Regions from separate parts of the Homo sapiens genome. Here all the other regions are linked to region 1. Evidence: promoter capture Hi-C in 16 types of primary human blood cells and fetal thymus (Javierre and others, 2016). All regions are on one chromosome and are shown on one strand. Each heading gives the region's core, a stretch centred on a gene start or on the middle of the fragment in contact. The rest is flanking DNA. Distances are from core to core; before and after follow the strand shown.

Evidence for each region. Contacts are between HindIII fragments. The CHiCAGO score rates a contact against its expected background, and 5 or more counts as called.
Region 2: a contact is called between a fragment that was not itself captured here and the fragment with the promoter of PDS5A in region 1, in 13 of 17 cell types (fetal thymus, naive CD4 T cells, total CD8 T cells and 10 more). The highest score is 22.2, in fetal thymus.
Region 3: a contact is called between the fragment with the promoter of RFC1 here and the fragment with the promoter of PDS5A in region 1, in 3 of 17 cell types (fetal thymus, total CD8 T cells and erythroblasts). The highest score is 8.2, in fetal thymus.

The regions. Positions count from the first base shown.
Region 1 is chr4:39,976,469-39,979,168 of GRCh38, forward strand. It overlaps PDS5A (PDS5 cohesin associated factor A), which reads right to left and starts at 1,443. Exons shown (of 33, transcript NM_001100399.2): 1 at 989-1,443; 2 at 1-149. The coding sequence starts at 109. RefSeq lists an enhancer at 1-690 and silencers at 228-977, 1,028-1,667. The HindIII fragment of the contact is 4,779 bases long and covers 1-2,700 here.
Region 2 is chr4:39,455,385-39,458,233 of GRCh38, forward strand. RPL9 (ribosomal protein L9) reads right to left here. Exons shown (of 8, transcript NM_000661.5): 3 at 2,810-2,849; 4 at 2,202-2,297; 5 at 1,022-1,154. Among named protein-coding and RNA genes, the nearest start is that of RPL9, 2.1 kb to the right of the region's middle. RefSeq lists an enhancer at 2,539-2,849. The HindIII fragment of the contact is 2,057 bases long and covers 401-2,457 here.
Region 3 is chr4:39,364,835-39,367,664 of GRCh38, forward strand. RFC1 (replication factor C subunit 1) reads right to left here and starts at 1,528. Exons shown (of 25, transcript NM_002913.5): 1 at 1,405-1,528. The coding sequence starts at 1,407. RefSeq lists an enhancer at 1,450-1,569. The HindIII fragment of the contact is 1,173 bases long and covers 1,020-2,192 here.

The sequences.
Region 1 (2,700 bases), core at 193-2,692:
TGATCTTGTCGGTGATCTCTTTTACCCCCGGAGGGTAAGCGATCTTCCCGTCGGCACTCACGACGCCACAGAGGGCAGTGGCAGGCTTGGGCTGCGCGGTGAAGTCCATCCTGGGGGACAACTTTTGGTTCACAGTCCTCTACCGGCCTCTATCGGTCAGAAAACCAAAGTTCAGCGGGAAAGGGGCGACTTTGTAACCTCTTTTTTCATTTCAAATCTCTCTAATCTGGAAAAGGCCCTGTCTCCCCAGAGGCCGGGGACCCGGCAGCGGCCTCGCCACCCGCTCTTTCCCAGGGATCGAACCCCGCCGGCCCCGCCAACCCGGCCCTGCCAGCCCCAGGCTCACGGGGCTCCTCCGCACCAGCCGCCGTGGCCGCCGAACAGCGCCAGGAGTTTCCCATTCCGCCTTTCACAATGAAATCCACCCCCGAGCACCAGGGTCCGAAGTTTGGCGGCCCCGGGAGGCCGGCAAGGACCCCAAGGCCCCCGCTCGGCGGTGGGGAAGCACCCAGTCCCGCCCGGCCAGTCCCCTCCGGGAAACCAGACCCGAGGCCTATAGGGCTCGGCTTAGGCCGCAAAACTAGGGACCCAGCGGACCCACGCGCAGCGGCGGCTGCCGGGAACAAAACGCCCTTGCCCAGCCGAGCCTCGGACCCGGGGTAGTCCCCGCCGCGCTGCCACCCCTCCCCTGTTCCGCTCCCTCACCCCCGCGGGAGGGGAAAACAAGCCGCCCTCCACCCTCAGCCCCACGCCAGGAAGCGGCTGACGCGCCTCCGCACTTCACATTTTGTTCCTTCAACTTCGGCTGAGGGACCCCAGCTGCTTCTCTGGCCCCCGGCCGCTTGGCGCCTCCGGCACCGCCGAGGCCTTCCCGGCACCCTCGGGCGGCCCCACCGGGCCTCGGACCCGCGGCCCCCCCCTCCAGTCTCCCCTTCCGTCCCCTCCCTCCAGCAGCCTAGGGCGGGAGCCGAGCCGCCGCCGCCTTTACCTCCTCCTCATGCGGGCGGAAGGTGCATCGAGCGCCCGGGCCTCTGTCAGGTGGTTGCGCCGCCGCCCCTAGTCGGGCTGCACACAAAGCGGCTCCGCGGGTCCCGCCGCCGCCGCCGCCGCCGCCCGCCCGCCCGGGAGCGGCGCTGGGGCTGGCGGTGCCGAGGAGGAGCAGCCGCCGCGGGGGGAGACGCGGGGCGAGTGAGCGCTGGGCGGGGAGACAGTGCCGCTCTCCGTCTGGCCGAGGAAGAGCAGCCTCGAAGGCTCCTCCGGGAGTGTGTGCGCTTGTGTCCGTCCGGGACCCCCGCGGCCCGCCCGCACGCACCTCGCGCCGGCCCGGACCGCCGACTCGGACCCGGACGCCCCTCGCAGAGGCGCGCGCCCGGCCGTCCGTGCCCCGGGAGCCGGGGCCTCGCGCACACACCGGCCGGTCACGCGAGCGGCGCGAGAGCACGCGAGAGCAGCGCGCGCTCCTCGCTCCCTCCCCTTCCTCCGCCGGCCGTGCATCCGCCTCCCTCGGGCCCGAGGCGGCCGCGCGCAGGGCGGACAGCGCCGCCACCCGGTTGGCGCCAATACCTGCCGCGCGGGGCGCCTCCCGGAGGACCCGACCGGAGAGGGCGAGAGGAGGAGGAGCCCGGGTGGCGGGAAGCGAGCCCAGGTTCCCGCGGCCTTGCGAGGGCACGCAGGGCAAACAGTGCTTTATCTTTCGCAGCGGCGATGAGCTGGTGACTTTTGGGGGTCATCCTGAGGGACATAGACGAAACTGGTTGGGAGGTAGTTAATTGCTCGGTGAAAATGAACTGATTTCCTCCTCAGGGAGAGATCTGCAAAGTCAAGGAAAGTTGTGCAATGGGGCGCAGCGTGAGCGGCTCACTCTCGGGTCTTCTGACAGCCACCCGAGTTGCCCACCCTCCTTAGATTTCTGAAGTTAATATTTTGAAAGCTGCAAAACATGAAAATAGCATTGGGTCGAGTCGTTCTCAAGGTATGGTCTTTGGGCCACCAGGCCTCACAATCACTTTGGGTACTGGCTGAAAACGTAGGTTTCCAACTCCAAAGATTAAAAAACATAAAAATATATGTTTTTTTAACGTAAAAATATATATGAACATAAAACATATAAAAATATAACATATAAAATAAAACACTAAAAAATATAAAAATATACATAAACATAAAAATCTCTGAGAGTGGAACCCAGAAATAAGCATTTATTAATTGGGTGGGTGATTCTTGTAAATAAGGAAGAGCTCATTTTTTAAAAATGTTTTAAACCTACCAAGCATTAACGTTTTCTGTCATCCAAAGGAAAACCACTATCAGGTAAAAACAGTGCACGCAGCAGTGTTTGAGCAATTTAATGTATGTAATTGAAACAAATTAACGCAAGAACATACACTTACCTATTTAAAAAAAATCAAGAGCATACACAAAATTTCCGAAGAGAAAGTTGAAAAAAGGATACGATAATATGAAATCACATTCAGCTCTTGAAACTGACCACTACCATAGTTTAAAATGATATTCGATTGTTTATTCAAATTATTCTTGATGGGTACCCATTGGTCTATTTTTTTCCCACATCCTTTAACGTCAACTTAAAAATAGTAAAGGTACTGCATTTCAGCTCACTGACTTGTTTTTGACGTATTACACAAGAGCAGTCATTGCGAATCTGACACTCCACAGTTGCTGATTTGCTAGAACTCTGCC
Region 2 (2,849 bases), core at 179-2,678, 520 kb before region 1:
TTCCCACCCCTCCCCACCCCAATGGAATCAAAATGCATCAAGAGGCCGAGCCAGGTATGTTTTAAGAGGCCAAGGGGGAAGAACTGCTTGAGCCTGCAAGTTCAAGACCAGCCTGGACAACATAGCAAGACCCTGCCTCTACAAAAAACTTAAAAATTAGCTGGGGCCAGGCACCATAGCATTCCTTGAAATCAGCCTGGGCAACGTGGCGAAACAGTCTCTACAAAAAATCAAAAATCAGCTGGATGTGGTGGCAGGCACCTGCAGTGCCAGCTAGTGGGGAGGCTGAGGTGGGAGAAACACCTGAGCACGAAGGTGGAGGATGCAATGAGCTGAGATCACGCCACCGTACTCCAGCCTGGGCAACAGAGCAAGACCCTGCCTCAAATAAAAAGCACTAAGCTTTAAATTTTTTTTAAAGCTACTGTGTTTACTATGTATTACGCATGCATTGTTGTTTTTCAACTTTAACTCATTTAATCAAAGATGTTTGCAATTTTAAGCTGCAGAGAGATGACATGCCCAAGGTGGACAGTGAGAGCTGAAATTTACGCTAGGCTATTAACCACTACTCATGTAGTTTTCTCTTTAGATTTTAAAGGTTCTTACCACGAAGAAATAAATGGAGTGATGGATGTGTTAATTAGCCTGATTTAGTCATTCCACAGAATATGCATGTGTTGAAACATCACATTGTGCTCCATAAATACACACCATTATATACACCTTTTGTAAATTTAAAGTCTTTTTAAAAGATTTCATTTGCCAAGTTAAATACAACCACCACTGCAAGCTACTCCAATGTATCAACTTTCTGAAATTGTAATCGACATAATGATATAAACCCTTAAGTAGCACCAACAGTTTAAGTGTAATCAAGAGATAATTCTAAAACAAATCTGGTTTTACTCAGCACAAACACAAAACAACAGCCAACTAAAGTATGGAAGTTGGGAGTGGAAAAGGAGGAAAAAAATATGAAGGAAAAATTTCTTAATTCTGTCTGAGGGTATGCACATACCTGGTCTCATCCGAACCCTGCGGATATATTTTTCACCCAAGAAATTTCGGATTTCAACAAGAGACCCATTCTCCTGGATAACAACGTTGATGGGGAAGTGAGCATACACAGACCTCATCTTGTAACGGAAGCCCTATGTTAAATAAATAAGCAAGCTATTAGCAATGCTGAGGAATATTTTTAATAGTTTTAAAATTTTCTAAGATGCTTATACTTATTTTAAAACGTAACACTCACTGCCAAGATTTTCTAATAACTGTCACCTGAACCAAGCCTTATAAACATTGTTCTGTCTATTCAGTGGACTGTAAAGCTCCTTGCGGAGGCTTTATTTCACTAGCTCTTATGCCCTCAATGAACAATGCTGCCTTCTTTTAATGAGAACCCCAAAGCCCTGATCTTAGACATTAGACTAACATTTACTGAGTTACTAAGGTACAGCACATGGCAGGAATTGAGACCACCAAGCCAAAGGCAGGCCCCCTGCCTTCAAGGAACTTAAGGCTAAGAGCAAGGGTAGATGGGGGAATCTTAACAGATTTATAATAGATGTACAGGGTGCCATTATCAGGTGCATTCTAGAAGGTATAATGCAAAGAAAACCATTTCAGCATGAACTTTTTATCTTGAGGGGAGAGACGGTGGGTTGGAAAGAATAATGACATACATTATGGCAGCAGACAGAAAACTCAGAAACTACATCTTTTTCTATCCCAACAAGGGGTCCTGATGGTGAGATGTGACTACCAACTAGTACTGCAACTGTAGATTTCCTATCTTAAAGAATTCGGAAGGTATGAAAATTCATCATTAGCCTACTTTTTAAAAGTTGTACCCATCTAGCCATGCATGGTGGCTCATGCCTGCAATCCCAGTACTATGGGAGGCCAAGGTGGGAGGATCACTTGAGCTCAGCCTGGACAAAATAGCGAGACCCCAGCCTTGATTAAAAAAAAAAAAAACCCAACAACAGAAAAAAACAAACATGTTGTACCCATCTGGTCTTTGCTCTCAGCTCTATCGCTTAAAGACCCACAGATGCCTATTTTTGCCAAGTTCTTGCGTATTACACCAAATAAAATACATGACCCATTCTCTGAAAGAGACACTTACGCTGTATAAAGCACAGGTTTGAGAAACCTCCCTTTCCAAAACAAGGAAGTCTGATACATCTGCTTACCAGTGTAACACCCTTGATCATGTTCTGTACATGACTACAAATAGTCCGAACGGTAGCCAGTTCCTTTCTGTTACCCCACCATTTGTCAACCCGGAGCTGTAACAGAACAAAAAATGTATTCTTTCCAGAAATATGCAGGCTTAAAAGACAACAGACCACTTACCGAATTACTTTAAGATTCTAGAATTAACCCTTATCAAAGCACATGGTTTTCAACTGGAAAAATCCAACCACCTATAAAACCTCCCAACAGTTAAGCTTTGTAGAAGTTGCAACAAACTTCCCTTCTGGAAAATTAAATCATCAGGTTTAAATGACCTACTGCCGGTTCCTGTGATTTTTACAAAGCAATCACTAGGAAAATAAACCAAACTTCTAACACCATTAAGACGTGTCACTGATGACCACTATTACATTTGAGCTTTATATAATTGGCTGTGTTCAGAATCTGGTTTTTCAATTTCACTGAACAGGCTGGTATTCTGGACAGCAACATTTAAAGCTGAAGCACTGAACCTTAATTCGAAAATTGTTAAAGCAACCAAATGTGATGCTGTTATAAACCACCTTCCAACGAGCAACTGAATTATCAGAAGAAAAACCCTCACCCTCTTTTTTTTCTTTCCAAGAAGGCTGAGTTCTACATTG
Region 3 (2,830 bases), core at 278-2,777, 610 kb before region 1:
TTGCCCAAGACCACGTAACTATTAAACTAGACTATACTAACATAGTAATATAACTATAAATTAATATATAAACCATTAAACTAAAATATTACCACGTTCTTCATCTTCAAGACTCCAAGTCTCAAGCTTCCAAAATACCACAGTGCTTTGGCCTCCAAAATGTAATGATGATCATTATAGGGAAGTAGTATAACATGGTGGTCAGAAACACCAAGATTCTAATTCTAGTTCAACCACCTACTAGTTATATGATACACTGTTTAAATTCCAAAAAGGTGCTTGCACCATCTGTAAAACTGCATCGATGTGGGTTGAAATGAAAAAAAAAAAAAAAAAAAAAAACCATGGAAAACCAACAGTTCACATATTGACCTAAAGAAGATGCTTGGTACAAGGTAGCTACTATCATTACTGTTGCCCTTTTTTGAGAAGAAACACAAAGGCCTGCAACGTTTCCCAGTGTGGCATAAAATTTTCACCGCCCCCCCCCAGAATGTTGTCACTGTGACACGTTGACCAATGATTGAAAAAAATTATATCGGATTGTTAAGTATCTTCTAGCTTAATGAACATTTTAAATGGTCCTTTAAAAATATTTCAAACACAGAGCCATATCCATTGCCATACCATCAGGAATGTCTGCTTTGCTGGCTGCATAATCATTTCACTTTCAATTTGTTTGAACATTTTATCCAGAATTATGCAGTGAGGCTTGGGTTTTTTTCAGATTTTAAACATCAGGTGGTAAGAGGATGACAGCTGTCAAATGTCTTGCATCTGTTTCTATTCGCTGTACTTCTTTTTCCTAGTAAGCCATGTTATCCTTTTGACTCCTATGAACTCATCTAAACAAAATAAAATATCCTCTCCATGCCCTCGGTCTCAACACCGCTCAGGTGATCGTTAATGACGAGCGGAGATGAGACGAGCTGAGCTGTTAATGATAAAAGTTTAAGGCCCTACACAACATATTCCCTAAGAAAGAAAAGTTTGTTACATTCTTCTCCCTCGTGACCCAAAGCTTGAAATCCACGCTTTAGGCAGTACTCAAACTGAGGTTCGGGCAACGCCGAACAAGAAAATAACTTTACCAATGCGTCCCAAAACCACCATCCTTCCTCTCTTCCTTTCTCCCTTCCCCCAAGAGTGGGGGGCGGGGGGAAAGTGCAAGTACACGTAGCAACAAAATCCCTGCGCGCTGGCTGCCGCCCAGAGCCAGAGCCCGCGATGCAATGAAAGTTTTGCGTCCAGTGCCCGGTGTGCGGCCCCTTCTCTGCCTTTGCTAGCCTCCGGAACCACCCACCGCCATCCTCCCCCACCCTGCATACCAGGAGTGCCCGGTCCACACCAGGCCTGCAAAGCCCCCCCAGACCCCGAGCCGCACGGCCTCCCCCAGCGGCTCACCATCGCAGCCCCAGGATGAAGGCGCTGGCTGGCTGGCGGGTGGGCCGGTTGAGGAATCTGTTATCGAGGCTCAGGATCCATTCGCGCCAACAACTTCTCCCGCGAAGTGCAAGAAGGCGAAGACAGTGGCGCGCGGTGATGACGTCAGGAGGCGCGAGCTTTGCTTCCGTCCCGCCCAGAGGCGGGAGGTGCGACGCCTGCCCAGGTGCTGCCCCGAGGGCAGGCGGGCCGCTGACATCGAGAGGAACCACGGTGCTTTGGTGTGAGCTCGGTTTTTGGCGGGGGCGCTAAAGTAGGGGGATCCGATATTGGTTTCCTTGGCAGGCGGGGTACCCAAGTACCTCCCGGTTACACGTCTGGACAATGCACTTCCCTATAGTAACTTTGAAAAGTTTTTACTACCAACTTTAGTAAGATAAATGTTTTAGCTGTGCGTTTTACATATTATGTATAAATATCTATTCTGTAATAAGGTTTCATCAAGAGGCCGGACGCGGTGGCTCACCCCTCTAATCCCAGCACTTTGGGAGGCCGAGGCGGGTGGGTCACCTGAGGTCAGGAGTTCGAGACCACCTGACCAATGTGGTGAAACCCCGTCTCTACTAAAAATACAAAAATTAGCCAGGGGGTGGTGACGTGTGCCTGTAGTCCCAGCTACTCGGGAGACTGAGACAGGAGAATTGCTTGAACCCAGGAGGCAGTGGTGCAGTGAGCCGAGATCGAGCTACTGCCCTTTAGCCTGGGCGACAGAGCGAAACTCCGCCTCAAAAAAAAGAAAAGATACCGAAAGCTTTGGGGTAAACCAGTTGTATATGAATAGATTAGCAATTGAATCACGGAATACAATGAAACATTTGCGTACGATTTCAAGAGAAAGATTAGACCATAAAGAGTTCAATGGAGAAAGCAGTATCTCCAGCTTTGGCTCTAGCTACACTTTTGAAATTCTCACCCATCCACCCCCTGTTGGGTCTTGCGCTTTATGACACCAACATTTCTATGGCGAAAGATAGAACAGCCTGGAATACAACAGAGGCTGAGCATTGACAGCTTGTATTTATTAAACGCCTATTGTTGTACGTGCAGCTCTGGACTAGCCTAGCTCATTTTATCCCCATGATGACACTGACTACTCTTATCCCGAATTTACAGACAGACTGTTACTTATTAACAGGGCCTCACTGCACTGTTCCCTCTGAAGCCAGGATGCTAGGTCTCCAGCCCCACCACCTGCTATTTATGTGACCAAGGGCAAGTTACTGTGCCTCGGTTTTGTCTTAGCAGACATATCACACAAATTTTTGCCCATAATTTTAGAGGACCTACACCAATTTATAATGTTCATTGTGTTATAAATCAATAAATGAGTAAATAAGACATAAAAAGTTGTACGTGTCTTTTATATTACATTCCTCTTAACTTTTGC